2 separate regions of the Homo sapiens genome follow, and region 2 is linked to region 1. Evidence: promoter capture Hi-C in 16 types of primary human blood cells and fetal thymus (Javierre and others, 2016). All regions are on one chromosome and are shown on one strand. Each heading gives the region's core, a stretch centred on a gene start or on the middle of the fragment in contact. The rest is flanking DNA. Distances are from core to core; before and after follow the strand shown. Region 1 holds the start of ALKBH8 (alkB homolog 8, tRNA methyltransferase). Region 2 holds the start of RAB39A (RAB39A, member RAS oncogene family).

Region 1 (6,023 bases), core at 1,903-4,402:
CTTGCTGACCCCACTACTAGTCACATAGAGGACTCACCTCTCATGAAGTTGAGACTAAGGTTTTACTAAGGAAACAGGTCAGCATTTCATACTTTTGAAAAATTATTATAGATCACCATGTAAAGTGTTTGGCACAGGTGAAGATGAATTATATCTTCAAATAAAAATTCCTTTTCAGCTCAACATTTATTAAATTTCTAGTATTACAAGACTATGGAAGACATTGTGGTTACATAATAAATAAAACAAGGTCTCAGTGTACCTGAAAATCTTTTGGGGAATCATCTTCCTTAGAAGAAATGGTCTATGCAATATTCCAAGAAAAGATAAGGGTCTGTATACAAAGGATGTCACACAAAATTGTATATGTATTCACCTTTTTCTGGAGATATTGAGACATGGATGGGCAGCAGATAATGGGAAATGAAGGCTTGTAACTCAGGAGAAGAAGATAAATGAATAATCACTTAACAGCTAATCTCTGTTTGGTGTTTTATTAATTATCACGTAAATCTCAACAAAATAAATGCTGTTTTGTAGTTTTGATTTCAGGTCATACTCCAATGCCCCCATATTCTTTAGAAACCACTCTGGTTTCTAAAGGGAAGTGTTAATCAAGTTTAGCCTAAAGCTGCCTCCTTACATATTTAAGTTCAGCCTAAAGGTTTTTCTGTACATCGTGAACAAGTGGAGGAGTAAACCAACCATAGCCCACACCTGTGCCAATCGCTGAGTTTTGGCCAATCAAATGTAGCCAATTGTTTGAACAGTGTTCAAATAAGGCAAACACCAACCTGTAACCAATAACAGCTGTTTCTGCACCTCACTTCTGATTTCTGTACATCATTTCCTTTTTTTTTTTTTGTCTACAAATCCTCCACCACATGGCTGTGCTGGAGTCTCTCCAAATCTGCTGTGATTCTGGGGGCTGCCCGATTTACGAATCAAAAGTTCATTGCTCAATTAAACTCCTTTAAATTTAATTTGGCTAAAGTTTTTCTTTTAATAGAAGCCAGGGCTGAAGATAAAGATTAGGGAATGATTCACAAATCTCTTTATAACTCTGGGGAGGGCAGACAGGAAGAGACTAGAATAACAGAAAAGAGTCAAACTCAAAATCTGAGGGATTGCCTATATTTAATTACGGACAGAGTGAGAGAAACTAGTGGAAAATTCTGAAAGTAAGTGATCAGATCGTATAAAGAGAATTAAAAGAGAGGTGCAGAAAAAAAGTTTTAAAAGCTTCAGCACCTTAAAGCAGGACAAATACTGAGATGAAGTAATTGAATTTGATCAGTAAGAGATAAGAGGATATTTTACACTGTTATCCAGTTTGGTAGACACCGGCCACTTGTGGCTACTTAAGTTTAATTGAAACTAAAATTTAAACATTCAAAATTCATTTCCTTAGTCATACTAGCCACATTTGAAATGCTCATAAGCCACACGTTAACTAGTGTCTATTATGTTGGACAGCTCAAACTATAAAATATTTCCATCATTGCAGAAAGCTCTATGGGGATGTGTTTTTGAAAGCATCCAGTAGTGCAGAAGCAGAATTGCAATGGGGAGATTTCCTGTGTGTCCTCTTATACTCATGTAGCTTGCAATGTCTGGTGGATTTGACCTCTCCAGCTTGCACTTGCCTCCTCATTTTTACTATTAAGTTTTGGTCTCACCCTTTCTTTCCTAGACTATTGCAATGCTTGCCTATCTGCCTCTTCTGTTCTTTCATGTTTGTAACCTATTCTCCACACAAATCATTCCGCCACTCAACAGCACTCTTTTTTCACTGCCACTTTTCCTGGTCAGCCAGCTATTTTATTGTTAGTCCACTGTGGTGCACTGCAGATAGGGGCCATTGTATCAACAACATGGGAAGGTGATTCCTCTTCCCCTACACCTTTCCCTCCCTGCACTCACATAGCTCATAAACCAATGCAGGTAGAAGGATTATGGTACATTTATATAACAAATAACAGAGCAGGAACAACTGCTAATCATCACCCTCTCCTTTGTCTTTTACTTATGATCTGTTACCAGCTCTTTTTTCTTTCCCTCTGCCACTACTGGGCTTGTTAATATTTCGTTACTTTTCACTTCATCAGTCATCTTCTAGTCTCTCCTCCCACTTGCCACAAGAAGCTCTGGTCATATCATTTCATTTCTCTAACCTTCCTCCCTGCAACTCCCACTCTGCAGGCCTACAGAATTCTGTCTTGCTTCCTTCACCATTCTTCCACACATCTTTCTATTACTCTGTGGTACTCACCATTCCCCTGGCACATTCATGCATATTCACTTCCTTCCCTCCCGCCCATGCAATGCCATCTTTCAGACCCCAGGATCCTCTCCCATATCTCTGTGAACCCTGAATATCTGAGACAGGTCTCAGACAATTTAGGAAATTTATTTTGCCAAAGTTAAGGACGCCCGCCCGTGACACAGCCTCAGGAGGTCCTGATGATATGTGTCCAGGGTGGTCGGGGCACAGCTTGGTTTTATACATTTTAGGGAGACATGAGGCATCAATCAATATATGTAAGATGAACATTGGTTCCGTCCAGAAAGGAGGGACAAATTGAAGCAGAGGCGGGCCAACTCAAAGTGAGGAGGGGGCTTCCAGGTCGCACGTATTACAGCTGAGAGACAAATGGTTGCATTCTTTTGAGTTTCTGATGAGCCTTTCCAAAGGAGGCAATCAGATATGCATTTATCTCAGTGAGCAGAGGGATGACTCAGAGGGATGACTTTGAATAGAATGGGAGGCAGGTTTGCCCAAGCAGTTCCTAGCTTGACTTTTCCCTTTAGCTTAGTGATTTTGTGGCACCAAGATTTATTTTCCTTTCTCACCTCTAATAAGATTCAGGAGGAAATATGCACGAAGAATAGAAGGTGCCAGGGGACATTGCTGAAAGACCAAAGGGCCCAAACCTGTTTGACCTTGTCCATTTGGAGAGCAACAGATAAAAATATAGCTGCACTACCAATTATTACTACTCCCCCCAAAAAGACAACTGAATTTTCAGTGTAACAGACAGCACTTTACAAAGACACTTGGTCGAAAAAGGGTCACTCCCGGGCTCTGGGAGGCGAAGAGGACTGTGGGAGCGCTGTTCGTTGTCCCGCGGGCTCATGGGAAATGTAGTGCAGTTTTCTCCAACATGGCCGCGCCCAGGGGAGATGGCGTGCAAGTATCCGCTGCGGTGTTCTGGTGCTAGAGTGGAGAGGCTGGCAAAGAAGAAGGCACACGCATGGTGAGAATCCGGCCTGAGCCGAAGCGGAGGTGTGTGGCACTTCTTACTGGCGGGCATACGGGCAGCAAATCACCGCTTCCTCTTTTCAGCCTCTTCCGGTCTTCTCTATCCGCCTTGCCAGCTAGGGCTGAGAACCTAGGGAAAGGGGATGGATCCCAGAGGCGCCCTTGGTGCAGTGTGGGCAGTAGGGTGTCTGCGTTGGGTGGTTCTCTCAGTGTTTAGGGTGCATGTGTTTGTGTTTGGTTCGGGCGCTCACGTGGTGCCTGTGTCAATCTTCTGTTTTCTTTGGGGTTGGAGAGGACGGTTGCAACATGGGGCGTGTTAGTGTGGCGCTTCTGGGGCTTTTCTGACCGGTGACAATCGGTCTGATTGCATCGATGCAAAGGCAGTGCTGATGATCTGATCCCTTGCGCAGCTGAGTCTTCCTGTGCTCTTATTTGAGCAATCCCTGCGACTCCTGGACCTCTGGTAGCGTCAGCCTGTTATTTTGATAGATTTCATTGAATATTTATTGTCAGTTGTATGTCAGGCACCAAGTCTGTGCCCTTAAATAGATGACAGTTTTCTGGCCGAAGCCCAACACAAACAGGCAATTATAATACCATGTGAGAACTCTAGAGATAGAGGTCCATGCTAGGTGTTAATGAAAACGTTGAAGAAGGCCACCAAACTCAGAATTCTGGAGGAGGGGAGGTTTAGGAGGTAAGACAGCAAAGTCGATTTAGGTTTATTCGACAAATGGTTATTGAGTGGCTGCTAGGTGCTAAATCCTGTTTAAGTGCTGGGTGCTACAGGGTGAACAATAGAGACAAAATCTCTACTTCATGGAGTGAGTGTTCTTTATTCAGTTATGGGGAAAGACAGAATAAACAAATTAATGAGAGTGTAAGAAAATATGTAGTAAGTGTTATTCAAAGAGTTAAAACGGGGTGCCGTGACAAGTGATGGGGTGAATTTTTTTCTAAAAATTTTAAATCTTTATTTTCTTTTTAAATAGATGATGCAGTTTAAATAGCTACTAACTTCAAAAGTCATGAAAGAAGAAAGCTCCCTTTCATTCCTTTACTCATCGATCCATTTTCCTTCCCTGGAGGCAACCCATATCACCAATTTCTTGTGTGTCCTAAAGATTTATATGTAAACTCTGTATACCAGTGCCGTACGTTAAAATTGGGCCTCGTTTGATAGGAAGTTAGATTCTTTCTAATCTTTGCTATTAATTATTAGGTTGTGCAAAAGTAATCATGGTTTTTGCATTTTTTTAAACATATAAGTATAGGAACATTTGTCTATACTGCTTGTTTCATAATAGGCTCTCTATTATTCAAGGAGGGCATGATGTACATACTACTATTACCACGTAGGGCAATATCTAGTAGGATATATTGGCTTTAAACTCACTAACAAGCAAGTAGCAGAGCATGCATAATCTCCAAACTTTCATTATCCCACAGAGAGTACGCTTAGGCTGGAGCTGGCTGAACCGGACTCAGCATGGCTAGTATCATAGTTAATAGTGACTTCACTCCAGTAATGTCACAGGGAGCATCCAAGTATCTGTGCATTAGTGGAAACTCTGGCCAGGGAAGTGGCTTTGTCAGAAGGGGGCACCTCCAGACCTCAGCAGCTGGTATCAGCCTATCCTTGTTGAGATGACTCAGATATGTTGGGCCAGCACATTGCCTAGCCACTGGAATGGTGGAAAACTGAGCCTCAAAGGCCATTTAGTGTCTTTCTTCACGTGCAATAATATTGCATGACTGAGGGAGAGAAAAAGGAAAGGGATGACAAAAATGTGGTTATGAGGCTCCACCTGCTGGTGCTGGACTCTTAGTGGCAGACATTTTAAAAAGATATATTTAGCATCGTTTCTTTCTCATTCCTTCTTTGCAGTGTTTGCTCATGTGAAATATTAAAAATTCTGTAGTGCAGTCATCCCTTGTTCTCCATGACATACTGCAAAGTTGCTGTTCCACAGATGAAGATCTTGAAATGGAATGGCTCTAAAATAGCTCCTTTGAAGGGCCTCAGATATTCTTTGTTTTGTTAAGCCATTTTGATCTGCTGCTTCTGAAAATCAACAGTAATAAATAAATAATAATAAATAAATTTAATTCTAAGAAAGCTATGGGATAGGCACTATTATTTTTATCCCTATTCCTAGATAAAGAAACTGGAACACAGAGCTATATAACCAACTCATCTAGGATTATACAGCTAATAATCAGTGGTTGAGCTGAGATTTGAACCTGGAACATGGACTCCTAAACACTGTATTATATTACCTCATAGCACTGAATGAGGCTCTGTGGTAACTAAGAAAAGTGTGATTTAATCCCGCCTTCAGAAAGCTCACAGTTCAGTGGAAGGGGACAGATACTAAAACAAATAATTATAATTAATGCAATGTTAGACATGTCCATTCACTTATCCCCTTCCTGTCTTAATGACGACTGACTCCTAAACCTTTTTAACCTCAGTTCCTTTCCTAGGAGCCACTTTATTTTGTCACTTGCCAGCCAGACATTGCAACTCTGTATCTCACAATACCTTAAACATTATTCTATCCTAAATATGACTCATTACCTCCTATACTGAGCAGCTCTTCCTGAACCTCCTCCTGACTTTCCAGTTTTGAAGTGGTAGCACTCATCTCTTAGTCACTCAGCCTCTAACTGGTTAACAAGTAATCTTTGATTCCTGTCTCCCTCATATCTGGGTAGTCATCGAGGCCTCTTGATTCCGCCTGAACTTTTCACTCACCCT
Region 2 (6,023 bases), core at 1,012-3,511, 360 kb before region 1:
AATTTTTGTATTTTTGGTAGAGACAGGGTTTCACCTTATTGGCCAGGCTGGTCTTGAACTCTTGACCTTGTGATCCACCCGCCTCAGTATCCCAAAGTGCTGGAATTACAGGCGTGAGCCACCCTGCCCAGCCAAGTTGAGCTACTTTTAAGGAACTAATTAAACACAATAAGATTTTATTACCCATGTGTCTTGTAGTTGCAACTCAAAGTAGCTGTTAGAAGTTTAAGACATAAAGGTTTTTATTGTATTCACTTCAGAGGGGGGGTCAAGAGCTAACAGCAAATGCTTTTTTTCTGAGCCTGATATATCGCAAAGTTTACCTCTGATTGAGATCACATGTGAAGGAATTGGCAATCAACTTAGAATGGTAAAACTGGAAGGAATGTTAGAGATCACGACGACTTTCATTTTACAGATGAGGAATCAAACATTTGAAAAATTATTTTAATAAAAGGAGGCTTCTTGAAAAGGAAAAACATTTTTCATGGAATTCTACGTGTTGTACAAATCCAATCAATAATCTTTTAACACCTCTCTGAAGCGCTGGCCTTACCATCTTTCCACTTCACACACACGAAAACTAAGGTATAAGCAAGCTAAGCAGTTCACTCATTATCTCTATGAATCAGCATCATTGCTAGGAACGGAAGCCAAAACTTTGAATGTTGGACCATTCTCACAGATGTAGGCTGATCTCATTCGCAGTGATGCTGGCTGGGGGCGAGGGGAAGCCATGTTTGGGAAGTCCCCTCATGGAACACTGCATTTCACAAGCAGAGTACTTGCTGACTAACGCAAAATGCTTCCTTAAATGAGTTCCAATGGATAATGCAGTCTTTAAGAAACAGAACAGTACAATACATCAGTTTCACCATCTTCCTCTAAAACGAAGTGCCTTTGAATCCTAGACATTTAAAATTTGCTTTAAACCTGCTTCCATCTCAAATATTCAGGAAATGCATATAATTTCATTTACTTTTTATTTACACAAGTCGCCTTTGTGAAACCCTTCATGTCCCCAGCGGATATTTAGGAGGAGACTATTCATTTGGATCCCTCCTTCTGTCTTTAGAAATATTATCACCCTGGAACGTTAAGTACTGATCATAAGCAAAATTAAAGTTCCTGGCGAATCTCAATATATGTCTTTTTCCCACCAAACATGACAAACTTCTAAAGACAACTCAACCCTTCACATACACACACACACACACACACACCCTCAGCTGTGCCAGTGTCCCTGATGTTGCATCTAGTTAACCTACAAGACCCATTCCCACGGGTCATGACCCAGTATTTCTGATGACCACATTCAGTGCTGTGAGGTGCCCAAACCATTACCGCATCCACCTCTCTGTGAACCATGCCCAGTGAGCTCATGCAGGAACCTGGGTTGGAGCGCTCCTTGCTGTGAAGCTAAAGGATCCATCACGAATCTGGGAACCCTCCCTCGCGGTTCTCCCCGGCCACACAGCGTGGGAGCCGCTGGGTTAGGGTAGGAAAAGGGGCGCCTGCTTGGAGGAGGGTGGTCGGGTCATGCTGTGCGCAGCCAGGGAAGCCGAGTTTGGGAAGAAGGCAGCCGGGGAGCCGGAGGGGATAAAAATACCCACAGGGGCTGAAAGAGTTGGGGAAGAGGGGGCGGCGAGGACGACCCCGGTTCAGGCGGGAAAGGAAAGATGGAAAGGGGGCGCAGGAAATGGGCGCCAAAGAAAGAAGTGAGAAATTGCGGAGGAGGAAGTCGTCCCTGGAAGAGGAGGGGCAAAGGGGAAGCGAGAATGGAGTGTTTGCACTTTCGAGAGGGAAGGGCCAGAGCCTCTCCCGACCAGGGCCGGCGGGGCGGACGCCTGGGGAAGGGGCGTCCGGGCGGGCTGAGGGGGCGGCGCGGTGCCCAAGGTCCCCGGGGTCCCTACCTGAACCGCTCCTGTCCCGCCGTGTCCCAGAGCTGTAGCTTGATCCTCTTGCCCGGCTCGATCTCCAGCAGGCGGGAGAAGAAGTCCACGCCGACGGTGGGGTCGCAGGCGGGGGAGCGCAGCCCGGGGAAGCGGCCCTGGGTGAAGCGGTGCAGGAGGCAGGACTTGCCCACGGTGGAGTCCCCGATCACGATGAGGCGGAACTGGTAGATCCAGATGGTCTCCATCGCTCACGTGCCCCGCTGGCTCCCGGGCCGCCCCACCCGCGGGCTAAGTTCGGCGGCGGGAACTGTCCTTTCAGCACCTCGCGGGCGCCCGCCCGCCGCCTTCCAGCATATTCCTGCGGCTGCGGCCGCCGCCTGGTGCCCGCCCTCTCGGGAGAGAGAGGCGGGGCCAGGCCCGGCTAGGGGCGGGGCCTCTGGACGGGGGCGGGGCGGGGGCGGTGGCGCGTGGGAGGGGGAAGCAGGTTTGCTGCCGCGAACTCCCGCCCCTGACCGGCTGCAAATCACTCTCCCTCAACGCTCACTGGGCGCCGGCAGGAAAGTGGGCGTGGCGGGAAGACGTGACAGCAGCAACAACCAAGGAAAATGAAGCAAGGTCTCAACTCCGGGAGGGTCAGCCAATGAAAAGTGAGAGTCGTTTTCTTACAGGCGTCAGGGCGGGTTGGTCAGATTAGGGCTCTGATTTTGGAAGTCCCTGAGGCCATAACTTGGGTCATTGCTTTGATTCCTCTTTTTTTTTTGTCCCCCAGGCTGGATTGATGTGGTGAGATCTCGGCTCATTGCAGCCTCAAGCGATCTGCCCACCTCAGCCTCCCAAGCAGCGGGGACCACGGGTGTGAGCCATCACACCTGGCTAATTTTCTTCTGGGTTAAAAAAAAATTTTTTTTTTAGAGATGTGGTCTCGCTATGTTGCTTAGGCTGGTCTCAAACTCCTAGGTTCAAGCGATCCATCCACCTCAGCCTCCTGAGTAGCTGGGACTACAGGCGGGGGCCACCACATCCCGCTAATTTTCTAACTTTTTGTAGAGATGGGGTCTTGCTGTGTTGCCCAGGCTGGTCTCGAACTCCTGACCTCAAGTGATCCTCCAGGCTCAGCCTCCCAGTGCTGGGATTACAGGTGTGAGCCACCACACCCTGCTTTCTTGTCTTGATGAGAGCCACCTCCAAGGCATTTTAAGGTGAAGGAGTTTTGGGCAGGATTGAAATAAATTTGCACAGCCAGTTCTGGGTGCTTCTAGCAAGGGCTCTGGCTGTTGCTGCGTGCTGCCACTGTCTGTTCTTCACTGCTATGAGTACCACAGAAGAGTGAGAAACGCCAAGTATCATCCCCATACCCTCTGGGGCCCTCCAACCCTGGGGACAGTGGCAAAAAAAAAAAAAAAAAAAAAAGCCGGGGAAATGTTGAGAAGCTCATGAAATTTTCAGCTCTCCTTGGTCTCCATTGTTTAAGTCAGAAAAAAGCGAACAGGTGGTCTCTTAGCTCATGTCTGATTAATGATGTAAGTAAACAAAGCAGAACTTAAATTCTGGTGAGATCTTACTACTTTCTTGTGCCTTTCCTCAAATTGAGTAATAGTGACGTCAAGGTTTATCTTTAAAAAGTGAAACAGTTTAAAAGTGTGTGTTAGGCCGGGCGCGGTGGCTCACGCCTGTAATCCCAGCACTTTGGGAGGCTGAGGCGGGTGGATCACCTGAGTCAGGAGTTCGAGACCAGCCTCAACATGGAGAAACCCCGTCTCTACTAAAAATACAAAATTAGCCGGGCGTAGTGGTGCATGCCTGTAATCTCAGCCACTCGGGAGGCTGAGGCAGGAGAATTGCTTGAACCCGGGAGGCAGAGGTTGTGATGAGCTGAGATCGTGCCATTGCACTCCAGCCTGGGCAACAAGAGCGAAACTCCATCTCAAAGAAAATAAATAAATAAATAAAAGTGTGTGTTTAGGCCGGTCGCAGTGGCTCACGCCTGTAATCCCAGCACTTTGGGAGGACGAGGCGGGCAGATCGCCTGAGGTCAGGAGTTCGAGACCAGCCTGGCCAACATGGCGAAACTTCGTCTTTATTAAAACTACAAAAATGGCCGGGTGCAGTAGTTCATGCCTGTAATCCCAGCACTTTGGGAGGCCGAGGTGTGTGGATCACAAGGTCAGGAGTTCAAGACCAGCCTGGCCAAGATGATGAAACCTCCTCTCTACTAAAAATACAAAAATTAGCCACGCACGGTGGCAGGCGCCTGTAATCCCAGCTACTCGGGAGGCTGAGGCAGGAGAATCGCTTGAACCTGGGGGGCAGAAGTTGCAGTGAGCTGAGATGGTGCCACTGCACTCCAGCCTGGACGACAAAGCAAGACTCCTCGTCTCAAAAAAAAAAAAAAAAAAAAAAAGCTACAAAAATTAGCCAAGCATGGTGGCACATGCCTGTAACCCCAGGTACTTGGGAGGCTGAGGCAGGATAATCGCTTGAACCCGGGAAGTGGAGGCTGCAGTGAGCCGAGATTGTGCCATTGCACTCCAGCCTGGGCAACGAGAGCAAAACTCCGTCTCAAAAAAAAAAGTGTGTGTTTACCAAAACAAAATTTTCAACAATTCCACTTTTTTCTTGTGCACATCCCAAATTCTTATATCGATATTCATCCCTATTTCCTTTGCTGTTTTGGAGGAATTGGTGTTGGCTGTGTTTAATCCCCTTTCACTTATCTTTTTGGGGCTTTTCCCAACAGTTGACTTTTATTTCATACCTTTTATACCTTGAATCTCCCCTTCTCCAGTGGCTTCTGCTCCTCAGCCTATAAACATGCTCAATTATCTACAATTCTAAAACTAAGCAAAACACCTCTTCATTACGCTTCCCCTTCAGATTGTTGACTCCTCCATCATTCTCCTTTTCAAATATCAGAAATGATGATCTATTATCATTTCTCATCTACCAGTTAGTCTTCAAGGAGGCTTATATACCCCTAACATACTCTCTGTGCCTAATATACCACTGCTTTTGATAAGGCTGTCAGGGACATCCTAATTATTAAATCCAAGCCCCCACCCCCACCATCCTCACCACCACCCCACTGCAGTGTCATCTAGTTTTAGTTGTCATTCTCCTTTTTTTTTTTTTTTTTTTGAGACGGAATCTTGCTCTGTCGCGATCTTGGCTCACTGCAGCCTCCGCCTCCTGGGTTCAAGCGATTCTCCTGTCTCAGCCTCCTGAGTAGCTGGGACTACAGGCGTGGGCCACCACACCCAGCTAATCTTTGTATTTTTAGTAGAGACAAGGTTTCACCATGTTGGCTAGACTGATCTCGAACTCCTGACCTCAAGTGATCCACCCCCCTTGGCCTCCCAAAGTGCTGGGATTACAGGCATGAGCCACTGCACCTGGCCATGACTGAATTTTCTGTAAGCACAACCTGAACACCCTTATTCCTTGGCTTCCACAAAAGCATTCTCTCCTAATTTTCTGTTCTTTTTAACCTTCTTCAATGACTCCTCTTTCTATGATTCATTTCTTCAATACTGAAGATCTTAAGAGATCCTTCCTTCATCTCTTTTCCCTCTCCCCACTTTTACCTTCACTTTGGGCTTTTTCTGGCAACCTCATGTACTCCAGTGACTTCAGTTACCCCCTTACCCATATCAAATGTCTTCCCCCAATCTCTGCTCTGTATTCAGGACCCGCATTTCCAACTACTTCTCTTAGATATTGGATATGCATTTCAGACTCTACGTATCTGTGTTGGTTAGGATTCTTTGAAAAAAACTTCAGTTAGGGTGATATTAAAAGATGAGAGCACTTATTCTAAAGATATAGAGTGTTTTTACAGAATCCGCAGGCAGGAATGATGTTGGCATCAGAAAGGTATTTGAACTGGGAAAGAGAAAGCTGCTGCCGGGCGCAGTGGCTCACGTCTCTAGTCCCAGCACTTTGGGAGGCCAAGACAGGTGGATCACCTGAGGTCAGGAGTTCGAGACCAGCCTGACCAATATGGTGAATCCCTGCCTCTACTAAAAATACAAAAATAAGCTGGGTGCAGTGGCATGCTCCTGTAGTCCCAGCTACTTGGGAGGCTGAGACAGGAGAATTGCTTGAACCCGGGTGGCAGAGGTTGCAGTGAGC

Evidence for each region. The method cuts DNA at HindIII sites, captures the fragments that hold promoters and counts their contacts. A CHiCAGO score of 5 or more calls a contact.
Region 2: a contact is called between the fragment with the promoter of RAB39A here and the fragment with the promoter of ALKBH8 in region 1, in 1 of 17 cell types (monocytes). The highest score is 6.3, in monocytes.

What each region holds. Positions count from the first base shown.
Region 1 is chr11:107,562,864-107,568,886 of GRCh38, reverse strand. It overlaps ALKBH8 (alkB homolog 8, tRNA methyltransferase), which reads left to right and starts at 3,152. Exons shown (of 12, transcript NM_138775.3): 1 at 3,152-3,286. RefSeq lists enhancers at 852-931, 2,860-2,919, 2,766-3,282, 2,990-3,479, 3,283-3,801. The HindIII fragment of the contact is 7,705 bases long and covers 1,245-6,023 here.
Region 2 is chr11:107,924,686-107,930,708 of GRCh38, reverse strand. It overlaps RAB39A (RAB39A, member RAS oncogene family), which reads right to left and starts at 2,261. Exons shown (of 2, transcript NM_017516.3): 1 at 1,914-2,261. The coding sequence starts at 2,140. RefSeq lists silencers at 1,786-2,005, 2,036-2,525. The HindIII fragment of the contact is 18,255 bases long and covers 1-6,023 here.